Regions from separate parts of the Homo sapiens genome. Here all the other regions are linked to region 4. Evidence: promoter capture Hi-C in 16 types of primary human blood cells and fetal thymus (Javierre and others, 2016). All regions are on one chromosome and are shown on one strand. The core of a region is centred on a gene start or on the middle of the fragment in contact, and the rest is flanking DNA. Distances in the headings are between cores, read along the strand shown. Region 1 has its middle 45 kb from the start of BMP3. Region 2 overlaps BMP3 (bone morphogenetic protein 3). Region 3 has its middle 46 kb from the start of BMP3. Region 4 holds the start of CFAP299 (cilia and flagella associated protein 299). Region 5 has its middle 24 kb from the start of BMP3.

Evidence for each region. The method cuts DNA at HindIII sites, captures the fragments that hold promoters and counts their contacts. A CHiCAGO score of 5 or more calls a contact.
Region 1: a contact is called between a fragment that was not itself captured here and the fragment with the promoter of CFAP299 in region 4, in 4 of 17 cell types (M2 macrophages, total B cells, naive CD4 T cells and 1 more). The highest score is 7.8, in M2 macrophages.
Region 2: a contact is called between a fragment that was not itself captured here and the fragment with the promoter of CFAP299 in region 4, in 7 of 17 cell types (naive CD4 T cells, total B cells, naive CD8 T cells and 4 more). The highest score is 11.1, in naive CD4 T cells.
Region 3: a fragment that was not itself captured here is called in contact with the fragment with the promoter of CFAP299 in region 4 in 4 of 17 cell types (naive CD8 T cells, activated CD4 T cells, fetal thymus and 1 more); the score reaches 8.6 in naive CD8 T cells.
Region 5: a fragment that was not itself captured here is called in contact with the fragment with the promoter of CFAP299 in region 4 in 5 of 17 cell types (total CD4 T cells, non-activated CD4 T cells, naive CD8 T cells and 2 more); the score reaches 7.5 in total CD4 T cells.

What each region holds. Positions count from the first base shown.
Region 1 is chr4:81,073,170-81,078,435 of GRCh38, forward strand. No RefSeq gene overlaps it. Among named protein-coding and RNA genes, the nearest start is that of BMP3, 45 kb to the left of the region's middle. The HindIII fragment of the contact is 4,027 bases long and covers 518-4,544 here.
Region 2 is chr4:81,056,716-81,061,695 of GRCh38, forward strand. BMP3 (bone morphogenetic protein 3) reads left to right here. Exons shown (of 3, transcript NM_001201.5): 3 at 1-912. Among named protein-coding and RNA genes, the nearest start is that of BMP3, 28 kb to the left of the region's middle. The HindIII fragment of the contact is 2,365 bases long and covers 1,023-3,387 here.
Region 3 is chr4:80,982,626-80,987,587 of GRCh38, forward strand. No RefSeq gene overlaps it. Among named protein-coding and RNA genes, the nearest start is that of BMP3, 46 kb to the right of the region's middle. The HindIII fragment of the contact is 1,935 bases long and covers 2,199-4,133 here.
Region 4 is chr4:80,333,809-80,338,654 of GRCh38, forward strand. CFAP299 (cilia and flagella associated protein 299) reads left to right here and starts at 1,922. Exons shown (of 6, transcript NM_152770.3): 1 at 1,922-2,071. The coding sequence starts at 1,961. RefSeq lists an enhancer at 1,914-2,063. The HindIII fragment of the contact is 3,926 bases long and covers 61-3,986 here.
Region 5 is chr4:81,004,343-81,009,022 of GRCh38, forward strand. No RefSeq gene overlaps it. Among named protein-coding and RNA genes, the nearest start is that of BMP3, 24 kb to the right of the region's middle. The HindIII fragment of the contact is 1,929 bases long and covers 499-2,427 here.

The DNA of each region.
Region 1 (5,266 bases), core at 1,281-3,780, 740 kb after region 4:
ATCAGAAAGTGTGATGCCTTTAGGTTTGCTTTTCTTTCTCAAGATTACTTTGGCTATTCAAGATCTTTTGTAGTTACATATAAATTTTAGAATTTTTTTTTCTATTTCTGCAAATAATGCCATTGGATTTTGATAGGGACTACATCGAATCTGTAGATTGTTTTGGCTAGTATGGACATTTTGACACTATTAAATCTTCTAATCCATTTACGTCGAATGCCTTTCTATTCATTTATATCTTCTTCCATTTCTTTCATCAATGTTTTATATTTTTTCAGTGTACAAATCTTTCATCTCATTGGTGAAATGTATTCCTAAATATTTTTATCTTTTCAATGCTTTTATAAATAAGATTGTTTTCTTAATTGCCTTTTCAGAGAGTTTGTTATTAGTGTATAAACACACAACTGATTTTTATATCTTGATTTTGTATATTACAATTATACTTACTTTTTAAATTACTTCTAACAGGTTTTTTGGTTTTTTGTTTTGTTTTGTTTGTTTTGTAGAGTCTTTAAGCTTTTCTATATGAGATCAAGTCATGTACAGAGACAATTTTACTTATTCCATTTCAATTTAGGTGCCTTTCATTTATTTTTCTTGCCTAAATGATCTGGCTAGTACTTCCAATACTATATTGAATAGAAGTGGTGAAGGTGAGACTCTTCATCTTTTTCCTAATCTTAGAGGAAAACTTTCAGTTTTTTAATCATCTGCTATAATGTGAGCTGTGAGTTTATCATATGTGACCTTTATTATGTAGAGGTAAATTCCTTTTACCTCTAGTTTTTTGAGTTTTTATACTGAAAGACTATTACGTTTTGTCAAACGCTTTTTCTGCATCATTAAAATGATCATGTGATTTTTATTCTTCATTCTGTTAATGTAATGTTTCACATTAATTGATTCACATGTCATGCCATCCTTGCACCCCAAAGATGAATCCCATGATGTGTGGTACATGATGTATTGTCCTAGTCATGCTGTATGGTCCTTTTAAAGTACTGTCGAATTTGATGTGCTAGTAGTCTGTTGAGGATTTTTGTTAATCAAGGACATTTGTGCCTGTAATTATCTTTTCTTGTGAGATTTTTGTGTGGCTTTGGTATCAGATGGACTCAAAATACGTTTGTAAATGTTCACTTTTCTTCAATCATTTTGGAGTAGTTGGAAAAGATTGGTGTTTGCTCTTCTTTAAATGTGTGGTAGAATCACCAGTGAAGACATGTGGTTCTGTGTTTTTCTTTGCTTGGAAGTTTTGATTGCTGATTCAATCTCCTTGCTTATTAGTCTGTTCATATTTTCTGTTTCTTCATGGTTCAGTCCCGGTAAGCTGTATGAGTCTAGGAATTTATCTGTTTCTTCTAGATTACCAGTTTGTTGGTGCATAATTGTTTATAGTAGTTTTTATGGACCTTTTTATTTCTGTGTCATGAATTGTAATGTCCACTTTTTTTATTTCTGATTTTGTTTATTTGAATCCTACAACTCAATAGGAAAAAAAAAACAATGAAAAGTGGGCAAGACTGGAATAGATATTTCTCTAAGGAAGATGTACAAATGGCTAACAGGTATATGAAAAGATGCTCAGCATCACTAATCATCAGAGAAATGCAAGTCAAAACCACAATGAGAAATCACCTCATACCTGTTAGGATGGCTATTATCAAAAAATAATAATAACCATTGTTGCTGAGGATGTGGAGAAATTTGAACCTTTGTATACTGTTGTTGGGAATGTAAAATGGTGCCATTGCTATGAAAAACAGTATAGAGTTTTCTAAAATAAAAATAAAAATAGAACTACTATATGATCCAGCAATCCCCCTTCCAGATATGTATCCAAAAGAATTAAAATCAGGATCTGAAAGAGATATCTCCATTTCCATGTTCCTTGCAGCATTATTCACAATAGCCAAGATAGGGAAACAACCTAAATTTCTATTGAGGAATGCATGGATGAAGAAAATGTGGTATGTACATATAATGGAAAATTATTCAGCCTTATAAAAGAAGAAAAGTTTGCTACATGTGACAACACTGATGAATCTGGAAGACAGTATGGTAAGTTAAATAAGACAGTCACAGATGGACAAAAACTGCATGGTTCCACTCATAGGAAGTATCTAAAATAGTCGAACTCAAAGAAACAGTAGAATGGTGGTTACATGGGCTGGGGCAAGGGGGAAATGAGTAGTTGTTATTCAACAAATATAAAGTCTCAGTTTTGCAAGATGAATACCTTCTAGAGATCTGCTGTGCAACAAGGTGCCTATAGTTAACATTGCTGTATTATGCACTTAACAACTTGAGAGGGTAGATCTCAGGTTAAGTGTTCTTACCACAAAAAAAAAAAAAGAAATATTGTTCATGACCAAAATTTTTATTGCATATGTTTTCAAAAATTTAGAGAAATATTGAGAAGGTAGGAAGCATGGAAAAGAATCTATTATTCCGCAACTCAGAGGTCAACATTTTTTTTTGTTATTTTCTTTTGGTCTTTTCTCTCTTTTTGTATGCAAATATATTTAACATTTGTAGCAACCATGAAGTTTAAATTTTGTTATATTCCCCTTAATATTAAACAATGATTCTTTTTATATGATATCCAATATTCCCCTGTAATATAAAAAGTGTACTGAACCAAGGCCAAGTCATTGATATGTAATATGAAATCACAACCATAACCAAGAAATTATTTGTGGTATTTGATTTCAGTTGCTCTATGGATTATTGTATGTACTATAGGTGCTCAAACATGTTTATTGAGTGAATGTTGAATTTCAATGTAAGAAAAAATTAAATAAAAATAGGCTAAAGGACAAAAAGAAAGAGCTAGTATTCCCAATTCTGTTAAACTTGAAAGGTAGCAGAAATTGAACTTTGAATGAAGAGAGATAAAAAGCTAAGTAAGTTCAAAACTCTCCCACTCTGATCACATTCCATCACCTAAAATCTTAACAGCACTGCTTGTACATAATATAGGTATTTTGACTGATACCCCAGTATGATGCATACTGGAGAATATTTTTGACCATAGCTATTACATATTATAGTTAGTGCATGAAATGCAAGGTCTTTTGTTTAAAGCAGTTTTGACTCCGAAAATATACCACACAAAAATGGGAATTTAAAACTCTTTTATTCCCCATAAATGGTCATAGTGATGGAAATGATGTTACCCATTCTGAGTAACAACAATAAATATCATGCACACAGTAGGTCCTTTAAAAATATTAGTTGAATAAGTCTTTGAAGTGTGCTAATTTATTTTCCAACCTGGGTCAAACTTCCACATCTATTATTAAGTTGCTGCAAAAGTAATTGCAGTTTTTGCCATTGAAAGTAATGACAAAAAACCGCAATTAGTTTTGCACCAACCCAATATGTGGTAATAATAATAACTACATAAAATGGAGGCAAAAATTTCAAGTGAGATAACATATATAAAGTACTTAGCACACTGTGTCACAGAAGTACTTAAAATGTGATTCTCCTTTCTTTTTATTTTACCTCATACAGTTGTAATCACCAATATCTGCAACTCTACTTGAAAAATAACTGAGACCACAGTCCGCAAACATTACTAGAAGAAAGGATATTTTACACACACATACACAGGCACACACCCACCCACATATATACATACATACATACTTGTGTACATTCAATTACCAACTTAGAACTTTGAAAACCCCAAGGATCATCCTTGCTTATTTCCTCTCTCTCCCTCACTCTCACATCCAATCTCGTCACCTCTCTCTCCAAACAGTTCCAGTCTACCCAGTATTCTTTGTCCATGACCCACTTGACACTCTAGTGTGAGCCAGTCCCCATCAGTTTTCCCCTGAATTAAGTAATTCAACTGCCTGCTTCCTTTATTCTTCAATCTATGTTTCATCCTAGCATAGCCACCAGAGTGATCATTCAAAACCGTAAAACAGATCCCTCCTCTGCTCCAAAAGAAAAAAAAAAAGATCAAATGTCTTCATATTTCATTTGGGATAAAACCAAACACTTTACTGTGGCCTATGAGACTCACAATCTGGGCCTGTCTACCTCTCTGAGCTCTCACAATTCTGGAAACTTACAGGACTGCTTTCTGTTTCTGAAACATGCCAAATTCGTTAATACCCCACACCTTTTGCATTTGATTTCTCTGCCTGGAACACTTTATCCTAGACTGTCTCAAGCCTGTTTCTTTTTCATCATTCAGGTTTCAGCTCAAATGTCACCGACTCAGGATGGCATTTCCTTACCACTTATTCAAAGCCGTTCTCACCTCTTCTCAGCAGCATTCTGTCCCATGATCCTGTTTAATTGTATTAATAGCATTTATCACAGTGATGAAAGTTTCTGCTTTATTTATTTTTGCAAAGGGGAAATAATTCTCTTTTTAAATTATGAATGTGATCTTGCCTTTGCTTACCAAAAATAAATCTTGGCTCTTTTCTGGAATCATCCACCTGCCGACAGGATTACTTCCAGTAGGATTGTGCTGAGAAAGTCCTAGGAAATATTTAGCTTTTAAAATTCAAAGGACAAGCTTTGGCCCTCAGAAAGGATTATCTAAATTCCTGTATCTCCTCCTTCAGCTTATATAGGATCAGGCTTTGTGGAAGAGACAAGAGTTTTATGTATGTAAGGGAAGTCCAGACATAACAGAAAGAGGAGAAAGCCTGCATTTTTCTGCCCTTGGGAAACTATGGAAAGAGAAAGGGAAAAAAATCCCCCCTTTCCTGTGTTTGTGGCTCCTCACAGTCTTCCCTGGGGTGGACTGTAGCATAGTAATATTGAGGGTGCAGCATAACTGGGCAGCAAGAGGCCCTGAGCTATAATTATCATGAATCCTTTTGGCTTCTACATTGTGAAAACAGAATCTATAACCCTGAATGTCCAGCTACGGAGCTGATCAGAGGGGATTCCCTTAGTAGTGAGCAGGTAGGTTTGTAGTGAATTCTCCAGAGCAAATCTTGCCTAGAATCGCAAGAGACCGTAGTCAAACCCTGAAGGACTCTAGTGCTAGCATAACCAATCGGAATCTGAGTCAATGAAGGAGGCTTTGGGCCCTGTCCCAGCCCGGAGAGACAAATGATGGGCTTCCCTAGCCATAGACTTTGACCATGAGTATCAGCCAAACAGCAACCAAGTAGATATCCTGCCTTAGAGCACTGACATTGGCCCCATCTTGGTAAGGAACATATTTAGAAGAGATGCTAAATGATAATCTGAGCATTTTTGTTTAAGAGAGACTGAAATTTTCATA
Region 2 (4,980 bases), core at 955-3,454, 720 kb after region 4:
ACATTCCCTTTGCTGTATATTAACTGATGATCATTTATATGTTAAGATTTTTTACCTTAATATTTCTGAATAAAACTCTTATTGCCCATTTAATATTTTCATAGGCAATCAAATGTGAGTAATACTGCTAAGAGTCTGATTTATTAAAAATATTTGTATAATTCATTCAGTTTAGTTTTTCAGTTTAGTCTTTCTGCTTTCACTTTTCTCTGTGCTAACAAGTAACTAATGTCTGGGCATTGACTTCTTATTGAATCAAAGTTGGGTTAGGCATAGCTATGCACACCTGATGTGTAAGATTAAAGAAGAGATTAAATAAGAAATCTTGGGTAAGTTGGACTTTTCTGTATAGCTCTTTTTTCCTCTGAGTTGTATTTTAATGTAGTTTATAAGTGATAAAATGATCCTTGTTTTCTAAAAGCCAGTCCTTCCCTTCAGCTTTCCACAGTTTCTGTAAATGTTTAATACTTGTACAGTCAATGGCAATTTTAAATATATATATATATATAATATATGTATATGGAAAAGGTTCAAAGATGCTTTTAATTTATTTAATGACTATTGCCTTCCTATAATAATAATTTTCATCCTTAATTATGATAATACTTTTAGCAAGAAAAATTCCTTTTTACTACAGTTTTTAGATGCAAAATGCAGTTTGGTTCTTTAGTCAAATCCACTTAGAGGGTATATTGCAGTGAAACTGTGAAGGATACTTCACTACCAATGTATAAGCTTTGTTGAATTTGTATCATTTTCTTTCAGTAATGAAAAGCTATTCATTATACAGTATGGAAATAAAAATTGCTTCATTGACCATTCATTTTTACTTATTGGGAAATACTATATTTCCAGACATTTTCAAGTGTGCTGCATTTAAAAGAGGTAATAAAGCTTAAGCATAGAGTTGAACATTTTCAAATGGTATTCTAAATGGAGCATCGTAACTTACTCTTAACATAACATGATTATCGTTGTAAAACAAGATTGAAATATACCCATCAGGAAAAATATATCTTTCAAGCTTGAGAAACTCAACTTAAATTGTTTCATATTTTCTTTTCTTTTTTAACCAAAAACTCCACATTTTATAGTTGGAGACTTTTGTTTCTTTCTGGATGTCTGACTCACTATTTTGACAATAACTTTATTTCATCTATCATTCTTACCATGTCCTGTTCTTTTAGAATGATAACTATCTAAATTTAATTAATCTTATCATTGAGATATATTCTAGCCATTTTTTGTTTAGGCCATAGTTTTTTCTTTAAGGAAAAAAAATGACCTGAAATTAAGAAATAAAATATGCTTTTATATTATTTTTATTATTTTAATCCATCTTTGTAACACTGTGTATGTTTGCATTTTGGAACTACAAGGAAATTTTAAAGATCATCTTGAACAAGTTCCTTAACTTCTCAGTGCCTCATTTATCTTACTTATAAAATGGGACAATAAACTTTCTGCTTCTTAGGGTTGTTACAAGGTTTAATGAGATAATACATGTGAATGACTTAGCCAAGTGTCTAAAACAGAATAAAGACTTAGTAAATATCAATTGTTATTATTTTTACTATTATCTAATGTAGTCTTCCCATTTTCCAGTGAGGAAATGTAGACATGCTATACTGTAAGTTTGGATGTCTACCCATCATGCCTCCCTTTGGAACTGGCCCCCACCAACAGGAATGGTTCCTTGACACATGACAAAATTGGACCAATGCTGGTAAAGCTGAGAGGTTATTTAGCAGCATGGCTGGCAATGGAGGCTTCCAGTGATTTTTAGCAGGCATGTGGAAACGTTGTAAAAGCTAGTTGTGAAGAGAGAAGAATAAATTGGCCAGGGATAGAGCATTGGGCCTTGCATAGTAAAAAGAGTGGCTGCTCTGTTTCCTGATGATATTTTAGTTCCTGTATCTTTTTCTCATAAATCGAACTTTGTGTCCTTGGTTTGCACTGGCTATCCCTGAAAACTCAACAATTACTCACTTGTACTTATGCTGGTTTAAGCCAATATCTGTAACTTGCAACCAAACAGTATTGACTATGATATACTGGAGTAAGTATGCCCAATTGCATAAGACTAGCAACTGGAAAAACTGGTATTAGAATTCTTTGTAACATTATGGAGAGAGCATCTTCCTTGAGATAATACCACCTTGAGTTTGAATTCTGGTTCTTTCAGTTAGTAGCAGAGTGATGTATGCCTTTGAGGAATATTGATGGAATCATCATACTTTCAGGGTAGCCAGTTTTGTGACTAATGAATACTTTCAAAAGAGTTGCCTCAGTTCTCATGCCAGAGGATTGTCTTGAAATACCACTTAGAATTGATCTTTGTAGCTATTAGAAGGTATGGTGGGAATTAAGGTTAAGAATAAGAACGTTGAGCACACATCCACTTAGTATTACCAAGGATTGCTCACATCATACAAAACTCTATTTTAGTGGGTAGAGATGTGCTTGATGATATAAAGCATTAATGCCTACATTGTCTGCAGTCTCAGAACTGGAAGTTAGCTATATGTAACTATTAACAAGTGAATATCAACCAGTAAAATGAAAATATATTCACATAGGAAAAGCACAATGTTACAGAGTTATATATATTTACATCCACAACATACAAAATGTGAGAACCCCGTGAGCCTTCCCTTCATACTCTTTTGTTCACAAAAAGTGGATGTTCTCACAATATGATATTTAAATTTTAATTTGGGTTATATTTGTTTTTTTCAATTGCATTTGAAGCAACATCAGAATCTATGGCAATGCTAAGCTCTGGGCTTGAGCACTTTCCTAAGTTCCTTCACCTCTTACATGTCCTAATTTTCTCCAGGTGGTGGTTAAAAATTCCTTTTTGCTCTAGTATACCAGAATCCATGAGTCAAACATCCATATTAAATCACAACTTATAAATATTTTTCTCCTGATCATGTCTTGGGAAAAAAAGCAACAACAAAAGTCACGATGGAAGGGAAAGAGAGAACACAAGAAAGGACCAGGGTAATAGATCATCCGTCCCTCAACTTAGGAGATTGTTGATTCTATCTCACTTCTATCATGTGATGGGGTTTGTGAGACTCTTCTACTTTTCATACCTACATTTTATTTACAGCATTCTTCCTCTTACTTTAATAATAAAAAGTAGGTGATATTATTTGTCTTACTATATTTTAACAAATAACTAAGGCATCTAATACCTTAACGAAAAACAAAGCCAAATGAATTGTAGAAAATAGACTAAAATATTATATATGTGTATTTCTGGTATATGAAAGTTTATTTTTATGCATATTGTATTTCATAGATACAGGCTTACAGGCAGACAATTTACGTTAGAATCTCAACTCTGTCACTTACTGTAGGACCTTGGACAAGTTATTAAGCTTCTTTCTGTTTCCATGTCCTCATGTGTAAAATGAGAACAAAACACAGAGCCTGCCTTACAGGGCTGTGAAAATTACTTGAGCCTTTATACATGAAACACTTATAAATGTTCATAGCACAAAGTAAATATTCTTCGAAATTTGCTTTTTGATTTTTTTAAATGCATTTTATACACTTCCATGAATGAGTCCTCATTTGACCCTGAGAAGTATTGGTGCGTATTATCCTCACTTTACTGACCCAGGAGAATAACTGACACACCTTAGGTCAGAACCATGCTAGTAGCATCAGGGCTGGGATTCCAGCAGCGATAATCTCACCCCAATTGTCCTATTCTTTTGCACTTCACCTCAGTTGCCTCTACTTAAAGAAAGCTGCCAGAGTAATTTCACCCATCTTTCCTTGGAGTCCTGAGAAATTTGAGGAAAATAGACTATCGCATCATAAAGAAAGCAAAAAAAAGTTTTAATAATGGGGTAATGTTTGATTAGTGTTGGGATCTGAGAACTTTCCCCTGAGTTGAACTTCCCCACCCAATTTCAGGTCAACCCGGGTGGTACAGAGATGGTCTCAGTGAGTTGAATTTTTGGAAAATGGAAAAATGTGCATTTTGAGTAAATAAATTCTGAAAAAGGGAAAGTCAAAGTGAGGCTGAACTGTGTACTCTCAGTTCCCATTTCTTCTCATCGTCAATCAGATATGTCTCTCCCCTTAAAGAGAAAGGATAGGGACAAGAGCAGAAAATATTACTTCAACACCGTTTCCACCCAGAGAGTACAAAGGAATTCCTGTTCCTGTCTAAGGAGAATAGAGGTAGTATACTAATAAGAGCCTCCCCTTCATCTCCACAATGCCACTAAACAGGAAATTCTGGCCTTCCCTACACGCCAAAAGAACAACAGCACAGGTGACTTAAACTTTAAATCTTAACATGGCCCCACTAAAAATATGAACCAATGGTCAAACCACCAGCTTTTACCCTGTCATCGGTAGGATCATTGCTCCTTCTCCCATGGGGAAGAGCCATGAGAGGAGGAAGAAAAAAACAAGAAGTATCTCCCAGCACTGTTTTCTCTTAGCCAGTGGGGTGGAAGTTGAGCGCCCTTTAGAGGAAAATGAGAAATGGGGTAAAAGTGACTTGCCTAACATATCTTGTGATATGAACTGTCTCTTATCTTTTTAAAATTAAAATAAACATAAGTTATGAAACTTAAGCAAACACTATATACAGTAATCATTTTAGGTAGTTGGGATTTGTTTTATTTTCATTTTTTGGTATGAATTTCCCTGCCTTGTGTACCATGCCTATTTTCTCTAGGTCCATCAGAGGATGTGGAAAGAAAATCCATCTTTGGTTTGCTTCAAGTCCAAGGCCATAGTTGTCTGAGTATTTGAGATACCTCCCATAGAGAAAGAGAACTCTATTTTGCAAGACAGTTGGAGGCTACTCTGTTGATAATTAACAAGGTCAGAATACCTGAGAAGCATTATTTTTACCCTGCCTGCTCAATTTTAGTTGGTGGCAACTTGATTTGAGTTTATTCCTCATTTCTTTTTGTTTCATCAAAATACTGCCTTGAGGGCAATAAA
Region 3 (4,962 bases), core at 1,916-4,415, 650 kb after region 4:
ACTGACTAGCTACCCAGAGGAAAAGAAGTAATATATGGAAAAGATATTTGCACAACCATGTTTATAGTGGCACAATTTCACAATTTGTAATGGCAAAGTATGGAACCAGCCCAAATGTCCATCAGTTAATGAATGGATAAAGAAATTGTGGTATATATATATATATCATGGAATACTACTCAGCCATAAAAAAGAATGAAATAATGGCACTCGTAGCAACCTGGATGAAATTGGAGACCATTCTTCTAAGTGAAGTAACTCAGGAATGGAAAACCGAACATTGCATGTTCTCACTCATAAGTGGGAATTAAGCTATAAGGATGCAAAGGCATAAGAATGATACAATGCACTTTGGGGCTCAGGAAAGGGTGGGAGTGGGGTGAGGGATAAAAGACCACACATTGGGTACAGTGTACACTGCTCGAGTGATGGATGTACCAAAATCTCAGAAATCACCACTAAAGAACTTGTTCATGTAACAAAACACCACCTGTTCTCCAAAAACCTATTGAAATAAAATAAATACAGTACCAAACCAGAAAAAAAAGAAATAATGAGATAGCCCTTTTCATTTGAGGTGTCATGGCCTGGCAGGCAGCCCCCTGTGGTGGGTTCCTTTCAAGATGTCTCAGACCAACATCCTGTTCTAAATACCATTTACCCTTCAGGAAATGACATATTTTATTTTCCTGCCAATGAAGGGAAGGACATTTTACCCAACTGCAACCTTCTTTCTTAAATCTGCTAACTTCCCTCTTGCAGAATTCTCCAGGTGGGAAGAAATCACTGATTTTCATTACCGCATTTCCATTACCACATGGTTGACCAAGTTTGGTCACCATGTAGAATGAGGAGATAAATCGGGTAATTCTCTTTAGAATACAGTAATACTTATCTCTTACTGTTTTTAGCTTTCAGCTTTTACCAACATTTAGGAAAAAATCCCTTTTAACATCACGTTCCATAAATATTCAAACTCAGTGAGACGAGTGCAATAATATGAATACATAAACCTTTCTCACCACTCACTGCTAAACTGATTCAGTGGGCCTGTTTTCTCCCCAGCACCAACTCCTTCCTAAGACTTCAGGAGGAGAAAATCATCCCATAGCTTTTCTGTTCTTTGCTTAGTCAAAAACAAATTCAATTAGCTTACACCATCTCAGTTAAATTTTAAACTTGTTTACTATTCAGGGATTCTTCAAGGTAGTTGTTAAAACTTTGGTAGCTTGATATGGACTGTGGTGGGGGTATTTACACCATGAAAATTGGCAAACACTAAAAACCTGAGTTTGGAGGGAAAGATTCAGTTTACCAACACTAGTCAAGGATAATAATAAAAAAAAAATTGATTTAAAACTACCCCTCCCTAATATTTGTACACCAAGCTATAAGTATGACTATAACATAAATAAGATGTTGGTGAAAAACTTTTGATAACTCCCACTTCCCCGAGCCCCAAGACCATGGCTAGCTTCAAACTTGGAAGCCTAGAATAAGGGAGAATATAGTTTCTTGTATACTCTTTCTTGCTGTTATAGTACACCTCTCCTGCTTGATAGTTGCTGTTTCTTATCTTTCTAGGGTTTGGCTGCAAGGAGAGGAGATTAGGGAGAAAGGACATAGCCTTGGGTGGCCGATGAAGTTGTAACCTAGCGTTGGTTCCCCAACTGTGATGGATGCACCCTTGCTGTGCTCTTTCTCATACTCCTCTGGCTGACTGTTTAGGTCATTCCTCCAGTCATGGGACTCAGAGGGTCCAAGCTTCAGTTGGGGTTATAAGCACCTCCTGACTGCCTCTTAGGTAAGATTCCTTTTAAAATGATCCCTGATAGGCTGCCTCCTCTCTCACCCGCATTTGCCCTCCCCTCTAGTCTTTGTTCTCAGAAAATAGGCACTTGCAGCCCTCTATGTGCTCTGTCCCTCAAGATTCTCTTGCCCTTGATTTTGCAGACAGGAGTCAGCTACTGATCCTTGTGTCTTCCAAACTCCAGACAACATAATTGTAACTCTCTTGAAAAGTAATTTTCTTGAAACATCCTTTCTCACTTGGGCTAATACAAAGAAGAACAATCCCCCAAGTTCCTCTCAATGGGGAAAGAAATCCATAAAGCAGAAAAACACCCCTCCAAAAATGTTATTCTCCCCAAATTTCTTTTTTGTAGCCCATGATGGGTAAAGGGCCAATGGAGCCAAAAAGCTTTATGGCTTTTGTACACACTGAATAGAAAATCGAGTACCATGCTTTATGATGTGGGGCATAGTTTGCACCTATTGTATTGTTCTAGGCTTTTGGCACCTTGGCAGAAATTCTGAGCAAACAAGAAAAAGTCATATTTAACATTTTAGTATATATATATTTGAATTTATTTATAAAATATCTTGAGCAGTACATATTCACACAACCTCAGGAGAAAAGCATTTGGGGGATATATGTTCTTTTTACTTCACGATTTTCCATAGTATGTAGTTTACCATTGTAGTGTGAGTGTATGATCATATTATATTTTTTAAGTGATGGCGCAGGTGCTGATTCAGATTTGGGAGCTACTGACCTCTCAGAATCCATTATTCTGTTCAAGGAAGTTATTGCAATTTGTAATAATTTCATTATTTGTATGTCTCTTTATTATCTGTCTCACAGTGTAATGTCCAAGATCTGTTTGTATTTGTAATCAGTGTAGCCCTGCCATTAAGATGTTAGTAGATGTTCTTTGCTGGAACAAGAAACCAAGAAAACAGGAGCGAATAGAAGTGCTTACCTATAGCATGTGAGTATGATGTAGAGGGAAGTTAGAACAATGCTTTCGAGTGTATATTTGTTTATATTATTTAGGTTTTTGAACAATGTAAATGTATTTTTTCAAAAACAAGGGTTTTTGAAAAAAAAGCCTGAAACAAATATAGGGGGAAAATTAACATTTTCTTTTTCTTTGTAGTAGCATGTATATATATGTATATGTATACATAAAGTTTCCTGAACTTTGTGTCTATTTAAATATTTCATAAATTGGAAATTTTAAGGAAAAGACAAAAAGAAAACACTACATGATACAATAGTTTAAAGAACATTTTCTGTGAAGTTAGAACAAAACAACGAATTTCTTCTACCTCTATCACCCAGACTGTTACCTGTTGCCTTCTACCTTTATCACCCAGGACAAAAGATGTCTTCATTTGTAAAATTCAGATAGTAATCACATAATCCATACAAAATTATGTGGTAAAGTGCCTTGTAAATTATAACATAATACAAATATTCATATTTTTTCTTATTTCAAATTCCTTAAATTTGGGTACCATACTTTGTTCTTCTTTATATATGCTCCAACTGTTAGCTCAGTACCTGGCTATGGGACTACTGTCTCTATTTCCTAAATATAAACTAAAATTTTTCAAGGCTGAAGATACAAAAAGACTCATCCCAGGGAAAGCAGTGACTAGGAATTGTAGCCTTGGTTTTTATTCTCCTGAGATTAACCCTTCATATGGGAAAATGGTTGTCAATTATGGCTGCTTGAGTTCAGCAGCCTCAAGGGATACTGCTCTCTCCTTATCCATGTCAACTCAGTGTGCATTCATGACTTCCCTTGGTTGCTCTTAGCCTGGTTGGGAATAAGCCAACTCATTAAACAGACTTGACTAAATACATGTAGACAGCAGTAAAATTGCAGTATTAAAATACTTTACTAAATTCTTGGAGATGGCAAAAAGAAGAAAGAAGGGTGGGAAGTGGAGAAGGAGAAGAGAAAAAAAAAGAAATAACACAAGACCAAATTTGATACATCATATAAAAGAAAATACACTAAACCAAATAATCTTATTTATAAAATGTTGCTTTCTCTTTAGAAGTCCCAGACTCTATCCTAGCCTAGCAATCACCCTGCCTCCACGTAGAGAGAGCCATGTTAATATACACAATCAAAATGACCATTGAAGAGCATTCTAGTCATTCAAAATGTATTGTCAAAGAGTAAGACACATAAACACACATGGACAAATACATCCAGCTTTTATCAATTCAGACTTCTTCTAATTTAAAAACTTATTCATTAGCTAGAAACACTTCGGGACTATTCAGCAGATAAATATGATTAGTGTCTCAGAAACTCAGGAATGTTAAAGATGGCCTAAGCTTTAGAAAAACAAAACAGCTACATGTTTGAGTTTGATGTTCATAACATTATCCATATTACATGTTTAGTCAAAAATATTAGCACATAGAATTAGTTGAATATTTGCATTTTATGATTTTTCTTTGGTCTAAAAACACGCACCTGTTTTCCAGCTTAAGTAAGATTTAACTAGTAGGAAGAGGAAGAAGCCCTTAAAGAATTGTTCTAGGGTTCTATAAAATTCAAGTATTTATTTTTAAAAACTCAATTAAGGAAATTATTTTTCTCCCCAGGGAGACACGTTTTTCCTTCCCTTTTCTTAAATTTAATTACATAATATTTTAATAGATGTCCTAAAACTCAGGAAGTGAAAAATTAGAAAATATGCATAAAAGCTCTTGCAGTATAAATGACCTCAGACACAGATCAAAAACATTAGAGCCATTATTATTATAGAAGAATAGTCGGGGGCTTCCTAATCAAATTAATAAAGAAGAAATAAGCTTTCCACTGCCAAAGAGATTCAGTATTATGAAATAGACTCACTTTCTAATATGAGTACATCATGAGTCATGTTCAATTATGTAAAATTAAAACTCTACCATAAAGAAACAGAGTACAATCAGTGATTATTCAGAAAATTCCAAAATTCAATAATGAGGAATTTATCCTGTCTGTTCATTAAAGGAGTTTAATATACATCACATTCTAATGATGCAAATATTTAGTCAGTCCCAATAAGCAGCTCTTTAAGGATCCAAACATTTTAAATTCACTTTCAAGCCATCCTTCCAGCTTCAAGATTTCATTTTTGTTGTGTTGTCCTATTACTTATTTATTTTTATTC
Region 4 (4,846 bases), core at 672-3,171:
GCATGTTATCCAAAATAAAGTATTTCTTGATCATAACAAAAGCCTTGCAATGAAAAGAGAAGCTTGCCGAAACTTACTAATTTCTTTGTTGCCACCCTTTCATTTCTCAGGCACAGGTCTGAAAGTGGTTCTGAAGTTAAATTGAAAGTTTAGAAAAGGACAATTGAGTTATACGCACTATTAATTCTAGCCTTACTGTGAGGAACAAGGATAAGTTTATGAATTTTCTTGATATTAATAGAGAAGCTGATTTGCTGAAAATCAGCCTCAGTGTTTTGAGTTAGAAGACATTTCTAGACTCATTGACTGAAAATAATTTCATGATTGTTTAAATTTAGATGCTGTAGAGATTACTTCATCAAAGAGATGTTGACCAAATGGCAAATTTAATGAGGTTTCTCTAAAAAATGCACAATCACAATTGATATAATAGAACAATATATAGCCAAACCATGACCTCACATTTTACTAACATATAGGTCCTTTTCATTAAAGTGCTCTAGTTTAATAAACCCAAACATTCTCTAGATGCTTTACTGTTTCTTAAAAGTGATGAAATCTTGATATAGGAGGATTCTTCTGCCTCAGCTTCCTGAGTAGCTGGGATTACAGGCGCCCACCATCATGCCTAGCTAATTTTTGTAATTTTAGTAGAGACGGAATTTCACCATGTTGGCCAGTCTGGTCTTGAACTCCTGACCTCGTGATCCACCCACCTCGGCCTCCCAAAGTGCTGGGAGTCACTGTACCTGGCCTATTATTACTTTTGATGGGTTACCAGTGTCCAAGGTTTTATCTCCTTTTTGTTTTCCCAAATTCAATAATTAAATTGCATTCAAAAATAAGGCCCAAAATATCTTTAAAAACATGTCAGAATACATTCATTAAACAAACAAAAAAACAAGTTAGTAGCATCCTAAATATTGTGTCTATATCACTTAAAATTTGCAAGTCATGACATCCTAATTTTTAAGATGAACTTTTTAAATTAGGAAAGCTAACTGAAATGAAGTATCTTACCAGATGTTTTCATTAAAATTTTGTTAGCAAATCTGTGAAAATCTTCAAGATGAATTAGAAACGTACTTACAGAGCAACAATTAAAGGCTTAGCATTGTATTATATGCTAATTCCCAAGGATGGTTTGTAAAATATTAAAATCCAAAGATTGGTTCTGAACATATTTTGCCAGCTGTTGTGTTGGATTACTTTAAATTCATATTTTAAAAACACAATACTGTTCTGAAGAAAACAAAAAATCTTTAGTGAAAGACTTTATTTAATAAGATTTCACAGATATTTTATTCTTTAAAAAGGGCAGCTTCAACACAGCAAAATTTTTCACTGTGCTAAAATAGTAAAATAAGTGCAAGAACTTGGTGCCAAAAAAGGTCTGCAAAGACATTTTTTTGACTGAGTTTCTTTCCTTTGGGAATTTCATAAATTGCTTCTTGTACACAAACATTAGCAATAATTTACCTTTGTTATAACTTTAAAAATAATTTAACAAAATCATTATTTTATTATTGTCGTTGTCACAACACCATTTGATATACTTGTTTTTGAGACAGTCTTTTTGCAAAATGTCTCGGTATTTTTGTCTTGCATAACATTGTTTTAGAATGCAATTGGGAGCTAATTCCTAATATTTTGTCTAAGTATGTAGGCAGTGTCATACTTTTTAACTTTGGATTGCAGTTTGCACCTCTCTGGTTGCTCAACAGTTCACTGAAGCCTGAGTCGGTGGATGGGTATCCGACCTGAACTTGGGTGGGTAATTCCAGAAAGTTTTCACAGGAGTGAGGCAGAAGACAGAAACTGCAACAAACCGCCGGGGGGTGGGATTAACGTCCAAAGCTCACACCGGCTTCAACTGATTGGCAGGAACGAAGTGGGTGGAGCCTCCTGACCCTGCCCTCCTGCTTCCGTTGCTAGGGACGCTTCGGCCGAGGATACCGCAATGGATCAGGAAGAGGGGCTGAAGGCCTTGGACAATATTGTCACTCAATTCAACGCCTATGAAGATTTCCTGGACTCGCAGATCACTACTGTGGACTTGTACTACCTGGAGGTAAGGGCGGAGCGCGGCAGAGTAGCCGCCGCCGCGCGTCCCTCGGTCCCTCCTCGAGTTCCCGCTTCGTGGGCTGGTCGCCCCCTGGCGCTGGACAGCTCAGCTGTCAGGCGCCGCGGTTTCGGGACCGCGACACTAAAGCCGCTGGCGAGGTGAATTGCCGCGTCCTTACCGCCCCGCGCTCCCCGGTCCGGACAGAACTTGGGCCCCTAGAGTCACCCAGCGCAGAAACGCGCGGGCACACTCACACTGGGGAGCCATGAATTTGTGCTTCTTGGCCTCCCCTGCCTCCTCCCAGCCCACTCCCATTCCAAAGCCGCTCTCTGTGAGGAAGGAGGTCTGCTGAGAAGTCTCCGGCTGTGATCTAGGACAGACACCTGTTTCTCTCTGCTTTGCCAATTGGTATATTAAAGAACAGAAGATGGCATCTTTACACCAACCTAGTGTATTTGGTGTTATATTGGGCGTTTGGGTTCATGAACTTCCACCTCACACTAATTGATTCTGAAAGTACTTTAATTACAGAGACGCATTACAGGTAGTTGTGCAGACATATTCCTGATTCAAGTTTATCGAGTTGATGATCACAACTAACTTTGATAGTAAAAATATACACACAAAAAAGGAGCGAAACTGGACCTAATGGGTTGCTTTCCTCTGCCCAACAGCCAATCCCCTCCCCAGCTACCCCCGCTGCAGGGTGGTGGGGGACAGAGTGGAGTTCTTGTCCTGTGCCACGGGAGAACCCGGACGCGCAGGAATTAACAAGTCATCAGTGCTAGGAAGCTGGGAGGCGGACGATGGCTCCTAAAGTCCCAGTATATTCCTAGCCAAACTTCCCGGATAGGCCCACTGAATGGACACTCACCTGGAGAGTCGGCCGTGCTCTCCACAGGACCCAGAAATGCCTTATCCCTATTTAGGCCAGAGAGAACAGGCGCCACTATGTGGTGAAAAGCCACATCAGTCTGGGAAGGATTTGCATCCTGCCACCAGCTCCCCACACTTCTGAACTGCAACAAGGTAACTGCATTTTAGTGGATTGACACTTTTGGACTTCAAAGATTGGTTACAGAGGCATTTCACTTAAATATGGATTACAGGTTTCAAAAGTGTTATTCTTCAGTACATTTAAAAAATAAATGTAGGTGGTATTTCCAATATAGCTCCTGGCTTCAAAAGCAAAATTTTAAAACATTATACAGATAATATATTTAAAGTCATAAAAGTCAGTTTATGCCTTGCATCCAAGACACTGAAAAAGTAATGCTGCTAAACAATGTTTACATCTAAATTTTTGAATGTTTAAATAAACAAAAAATGAAATATACGCTATAAACATCTTGATAGACTAAAATCATCTTTGTAGCATATGTGGAAGATTGGCAAATTTAAACCTAGTATTATTAAGAAAGGTTTTAATATTTTTTAAGGCACAGTTCTTCATGTGAGTATGGACCTAAAACATTAATATTAATTACAGATGTGAAATTAATAATTTGTGTTTCATCAATCAGAATTTTTTTTTTTTTTTTTGAGATAGAGTTTCACTCTGTGGCCCAGGCCAGAGTGCAGTGGCCCCATCTCGGCTCACTGCAACCTCCGCTCCCCAGGTTCAAGTGATTCTCTTGCCTCAGCCTCCCAAGTTTCTGGGATTACAGGTCTGCACCACCATACCCAGCTAATTTTTGTATTTTTAGCAGAGACAGGGTTTCACCATGTTGGCCAGGCTGGTCTCGAACTCCTGACCTCAAGTGATCCACCGGCCTCAGCCTCCCAAAGTGCTGGAATTACAGGTGTGAGCCACCACACCCAGCCCATCAATCAGAATTCATTAAAGGTTTCCAAAATGGAAGGTGGTAATTATATTTGGGGAAATGACAAAGAAATTTACTTTTATATTTGGCATTGATTAAGCTTATTTTTGTTGTACTTTCATAAAAAGTAAGATGAAGATTTAGTTGAATAATGATAATTAGACAGGTATATATATGTTTACATATATATGTATATATTTGGATTGATTAGTGACAACTTTTAAAGTGCTATTATTTCTAGAGATCTACATTCTCAAATACTTTCTGTGGATGTAAGTTCATTGTGCACTTAGGTCACACAGAAACAAGTAGACTCCTCAGCATTCTTTCAGTAGTATGGCAAGCATGTTTCACAAATCATGGATCATGCTAAGTGAGCTGATACTTGTGCTTTTCCTCTCTCTCTCTCTCACACACATCATCATCATCAGTAACTGACTTTGATTTGAATGGAACAACTTTTAAAACATTTTATTTTAACTAACAAAATTGTCGATATTTATCATATACAACATGATGTTTTAAATTATATATATTGTGGAATGGCTAAATCAAGTTAACATATGTATTACCTCACATAATTATCATTTTTTTGTGGTGAGAACACTTAAAAATCTATTTTCTTGACATTTTAAAAGAACATAATATATTGTTATTAACTGTAGTCACAATGTTATACAAGAGATCTCTTGAATTTATTTGAATGAAACAAATTGTAAACTGTAAATTAGAGGTAGCATGTTTAGTTAGAAGAGGCTAGAGTCACAAGATTTTTTTTTGGTTCTAACTCTGCAATATTGTGTTTTTAATCAACTTGAAATTCCATTTTTTACCTACAAAATGAAACAGTTGGACTAGATTATTCAAGTTTCCTAAAGTATATAAAATGTTATGAGTTATCTATACTTTCATCTGATTATCTGTACACCCATGTATTTATCCAGCCACCTTTTTAGTC
Region 5 (4,680 bases), core at 213-2,712, 670 kb after region 4:
AATGGCAGCAAACGGTAATAATTGATCTATGCTTCCTTAAGTTTTCTCAAGAGAAGCAAAAATAGTAAAAATTGGTTTATGCTGCTTTAGCAATATAAAATAACACTGCACCTGATGAGATAAGAACCAGATATTCCCTCTCCTTGTAGTGAAAAGTTGGGTTAGAAATAAAGCAGGCTTAGAAAACTCAAGTATGGAGCAGAAAAGTGGTATCACTGGAAATGCAATAGAAAAGAAAAATCACTGAATTGAGGTAATATTTACTGAAGAGATTTCCCATTAACCTTTCCTACTCACTGAATAATGGCAGAGAAGAAAACTGAAGATTTGCTAGCAATGGGCCTGGAGGAAATGAGGAAAAGCCAAATAATCACATGTCCCATTGTTTCATCACTTCCTCACTTTAAGACATCCTGAAATATGAATAAAAACAACATCTAGATATGCTTATAGACTACGACAAAATCAATCATCAACAAACCATTGCTATTTCTGGGAAGCTTAATGTATAAAGGCAAAGTGCTAAAGAAACTTAAATATGTGTAGATTGGATGGAAAGCAGAGCTAGAACTAAATTAATAGCTTCGTGTCTCCCACAGATACATAGTGCCTTTGTATGTGACTACATGTATGTCTGCATGAAGTATCATCGAACTATGTATTTCATTTAGAGATAAAACCAAGTCAAAGGGAATTTAAAATCAGTTTTCTTAATTGATTTGTTCAACCAAAACTTATGTATAAGTGCTTACTAATGTGCCACATGCAATTTTGTGTCCTAAGGATAAAGCAGTGAGCAAAAATGGACAGAGAGCATAAACTTTTTGGCCAGATCATAGAAATGCAAGAGTATTTGGGAGTCTCCCTGGAAGATCATTCCCTGAGTTGCCCAAGCCTTTTATTCTTAATTAGATGGGCAATGAGGAATCATTAAACGTGTTTTTCTCAGAGGAAAGGCAGAAGCAATTTATACTGCAGAAAGACGAATACATTAGCTATGTGCAAAATAGATGGGAGGGAGAATCAAGAATTTGGAAGGTTGGAAACCTATTTCTTGAAGTTGCTGCATTAACATAGTTATGAGGACAAAGGAAAATGAATTAGAGTGGTGTCAATGAGAGTATAAAACAAGCGATCAGATCTTTGTCAGAACTGGCAAAAGTTGGGGACAATTGCAGAGAGTAAGAGAGGAAGAAGGGAGCACAAAAAATTTAGTTAAGAAAGGCCACATGATAGAGGTCAATTTCCTAATAAAAGTGACCTAAATTATTCTAAGAATCACATAACACCAAGAAATCAGTAAGTTCATTAAGTTTTCCTTAAATTGAGGTAACTGATAAGACATGTCAGAATGCTCACAGCTCTCCAGGCACTGGGGTCAAGAGTGGGGCTTAGACTTCAATGTTACTTATCTTAAATTCATCAGTAAGATCCATAATGTTAACACACACTGCATTAGAGCTAACAGTTTGTTTTACAATTGATGGAGATGCCCTTCATCACTCCTTAAAAAAAGTAAGTGTTGGAGGAAAAAAACATATTTGAGAATGACCTCTTTTTTAATCAATAAGGACATGAACTCACCTCCTTTCACAGAAGAGAAAATCTTCATTTTTTTTCCTCTAATGCCAACATGCCACACACTAGTTATGTGGCTTGGATAAGAAAGGCAACACGCTATGGTTAAACACACACTAAAACTGAGAACTTAGGTAACATTCATTCATTCATTCATTCATTCAATAAGCCTTCCTTGAACATCCTCTTCATGCTAGGAACCATTCATGACCCTGTAGGGAAGACAGAGAAAATAACTTCAGGTGATAATAGTGAAAAATGAGACAACACAGTATATTAAGAGTGCAACTGAGGAACACAGGAAAGCTACTTTTGGCTATGGAAATTTCATGAAGGGAGTAAAATCTGAACCCCTTCTCAAGGGTTGAGCAGGAGTTTGCCATATGTATCCACCAAGGATGACTTTCCCAGTAGAAAGAACTGAGCCGCCATCAGCTCACTAAATCCCACTGGGTTGGCATTTAAATGTTGTCTTTTGAAACCAATCTTGTAAATCTTAAATGCAAAAGTATTTCCTTCCAAAGAATAAAATATACATTTTGAGAAGAGATTAAGAGAGTTGAGGATGGTAGAAATTACTGTCTTTGGGATACATTAATAAGACATTTTATGAAAGCATAAAAGAGTTGAGAAAGAATCACATTTTCCACATTGATAGTTAAGTAATGTGGACAAATAAAGGACGTGTTTAGATAGCAGCCTATAAATTCAATATTTTTACAATGTACATGAGTTTTTACAGTTTTCTTCAATGGTTAATTCTTGTTTGTTTTACTGAAAAGCCCTTAATAATCTTAATTTTTTGAGTGCACAATTCAAGAATTCTGTTCAATTGTAGGGACATTTAAAAGCTTACTGATCTATCATTGTTTCAATCAATTATTAGAAGTGGAGCAGTAAGAGTTTGTCTTTTGAAATGGTAATTACTTGATTCTATACCACAATTCACAGTAAATGTATTAAGAAATAGTTTTTATTACATGTCCTTCAACTATAAAATTCTTAAAATACTATAATTTCTTTAAGATGTAGGTTATACCATGTATTTTTAAGGATACCTTTTAAAAATGATGTATTGAAACAACATAGTTGGATTTGCACTAAATGATCTCTAAATTAGAATGATACAGCAGTCTTGAAAGAAAAAAAACAATCAAACTGCAATTTTCTGATCTTCATTAATCCATTCAATGCTCTTATGAAATAGAAGCAATTCTTATTATTCAAAATAGTTACATCTATAAAGTCACCATGAACACTGAATTAACAAATACTAAATCATTGCTCCTGAGGGAAAAATAAGAATAGGTTCCTGGGAGCCTCTGGCCACAATAATTTTATCAACCAATCAATGTAAAACCTTGCTTTATGTGTGTTTTTGTTTAAAGACACCTTATATAATCTATATTATTGATTCATTTACATTGAACTAATGGCCCACATTACTGTAATGGCTGATTGAAGCTTATATGACATATGTACTTTCTCCATATGGCACACCACAGCCTTCTTGTGCTTAAGAACACTAGACAGTACTTCAGCCCATGCTTGGGGACCATCGTAAACAGTGAAATTACCAACAAAAGTACACAAAATGTGAAAAACATGTCACTCAGTAGACTGTGGAAAGGACAGTTCTTTTTAGTATGAGAACTGAAATAAGAAGCCAGAGTTGCCTTGTTTATCCTCAGCTGGGAATGTGCAGATTAGGTGACTCACATTTTTTCACTCCATGCATGTTCAAGAATGACTGCAAAAGTGCCCCAGTATTGATTTGGAGGATACCAATAAATTTTAGCTAGTAGGTTGAATTTGCAAACACGGAGTCTTCAAAGAATGAAAATTTTGACTACAGTTATTATTACTAATATTTAGTAAGGAAACAGAGACTCAGAAAGCATACATAATTCACACAAAGATATCCAGCTAGGAAATGGCTAGTTGAATAATTATTCAAACCTAGCCTCATGTAAGGACATTAGCCTTAACTCATTTTTCCAAATAGTGTGACAGAAGGATTAGGAACACAGGTTCTGGAACCTGAGTGTCTGAGTTCCAGTGTTAATGGTACCATTTATTAGCTGTTTGACCTTGAAATATAAGTTAACTCCTCTGATATGATTTGGCTGTGTCCCCACCCAAATTTCATCTTGAATTGTAGTTCCCATAATCCCCACATGTCATGGGAAGGACCAGATGGAGATAATTGAATCATAGGGGTGGTTTCCCCCATCCTGTTCTCCTGATAGTGAGTTAGTTTTCATGAGATCTGATGGTTTTATAAAGGACTTCTCCCATAGCTGGGCACTCATTTCTCTCTCCTGCTACCATGTGAAGAAGGACATGTTTGCTTCCCTTTCTTCCATGATTGTAAGTTTCCTGAGGCCTCCCCAGCTATGTGGAACTGTGAGTCAATTAAACTTCTTTTCTTTATGAATTATCCAGTCTCAGGCAGTTCTTTATAGTAGAGTGAGACCAGACTAATAAAGTAAATTGGTACCAGGTATTGGGGCACTGCTGTAAAGATACACAAAAATGTGGACGTGACTTTGGAACTGGGTAACAGTAAGAGATTGGAATCATTTGGAGGGCTCAGAAGAAGGCAGGAAAATGTGGGAAAGTTGAAACTTCCTTGACTTGGAGGGCTCAGAAGACAGGAAGATATGGGAAAGTTTGGAACTTCCTGGAAACCTGTTGAAAGGCTTTGACCAAATTGCTGATACTGATATGAACAATAAAGTCTGGGTTGAGGTCATCTCAGATGGAGATGAGAAACTTATTGGGAACTGGAGTGAAGGTCATTCTTGCTATGCAAAGAGACTGGTGGCATTTTGCCCCTGCCTTAGAGATCTGTGGAACTTTGAACTTGAGAGAGATAATTTAGAGTATCTGGTGGAAGAAATTTCTAAGCAGCAAAGCGTTCAAAAGGAAGCAGAGCAAAAATGTTTGGAAAATTTGCAGCTTGGTGATGTGATAGAAAAAAAAAACATTTTTCTGGGGAGAAATTCAAGCCCCCTGCAGAAATTTGCATAAGTAACAAGGGCAAGACAATGGGAAAATGTCTCCAGGGCATGTCAGAGACCTTGATGGCAGCCCCTCTCA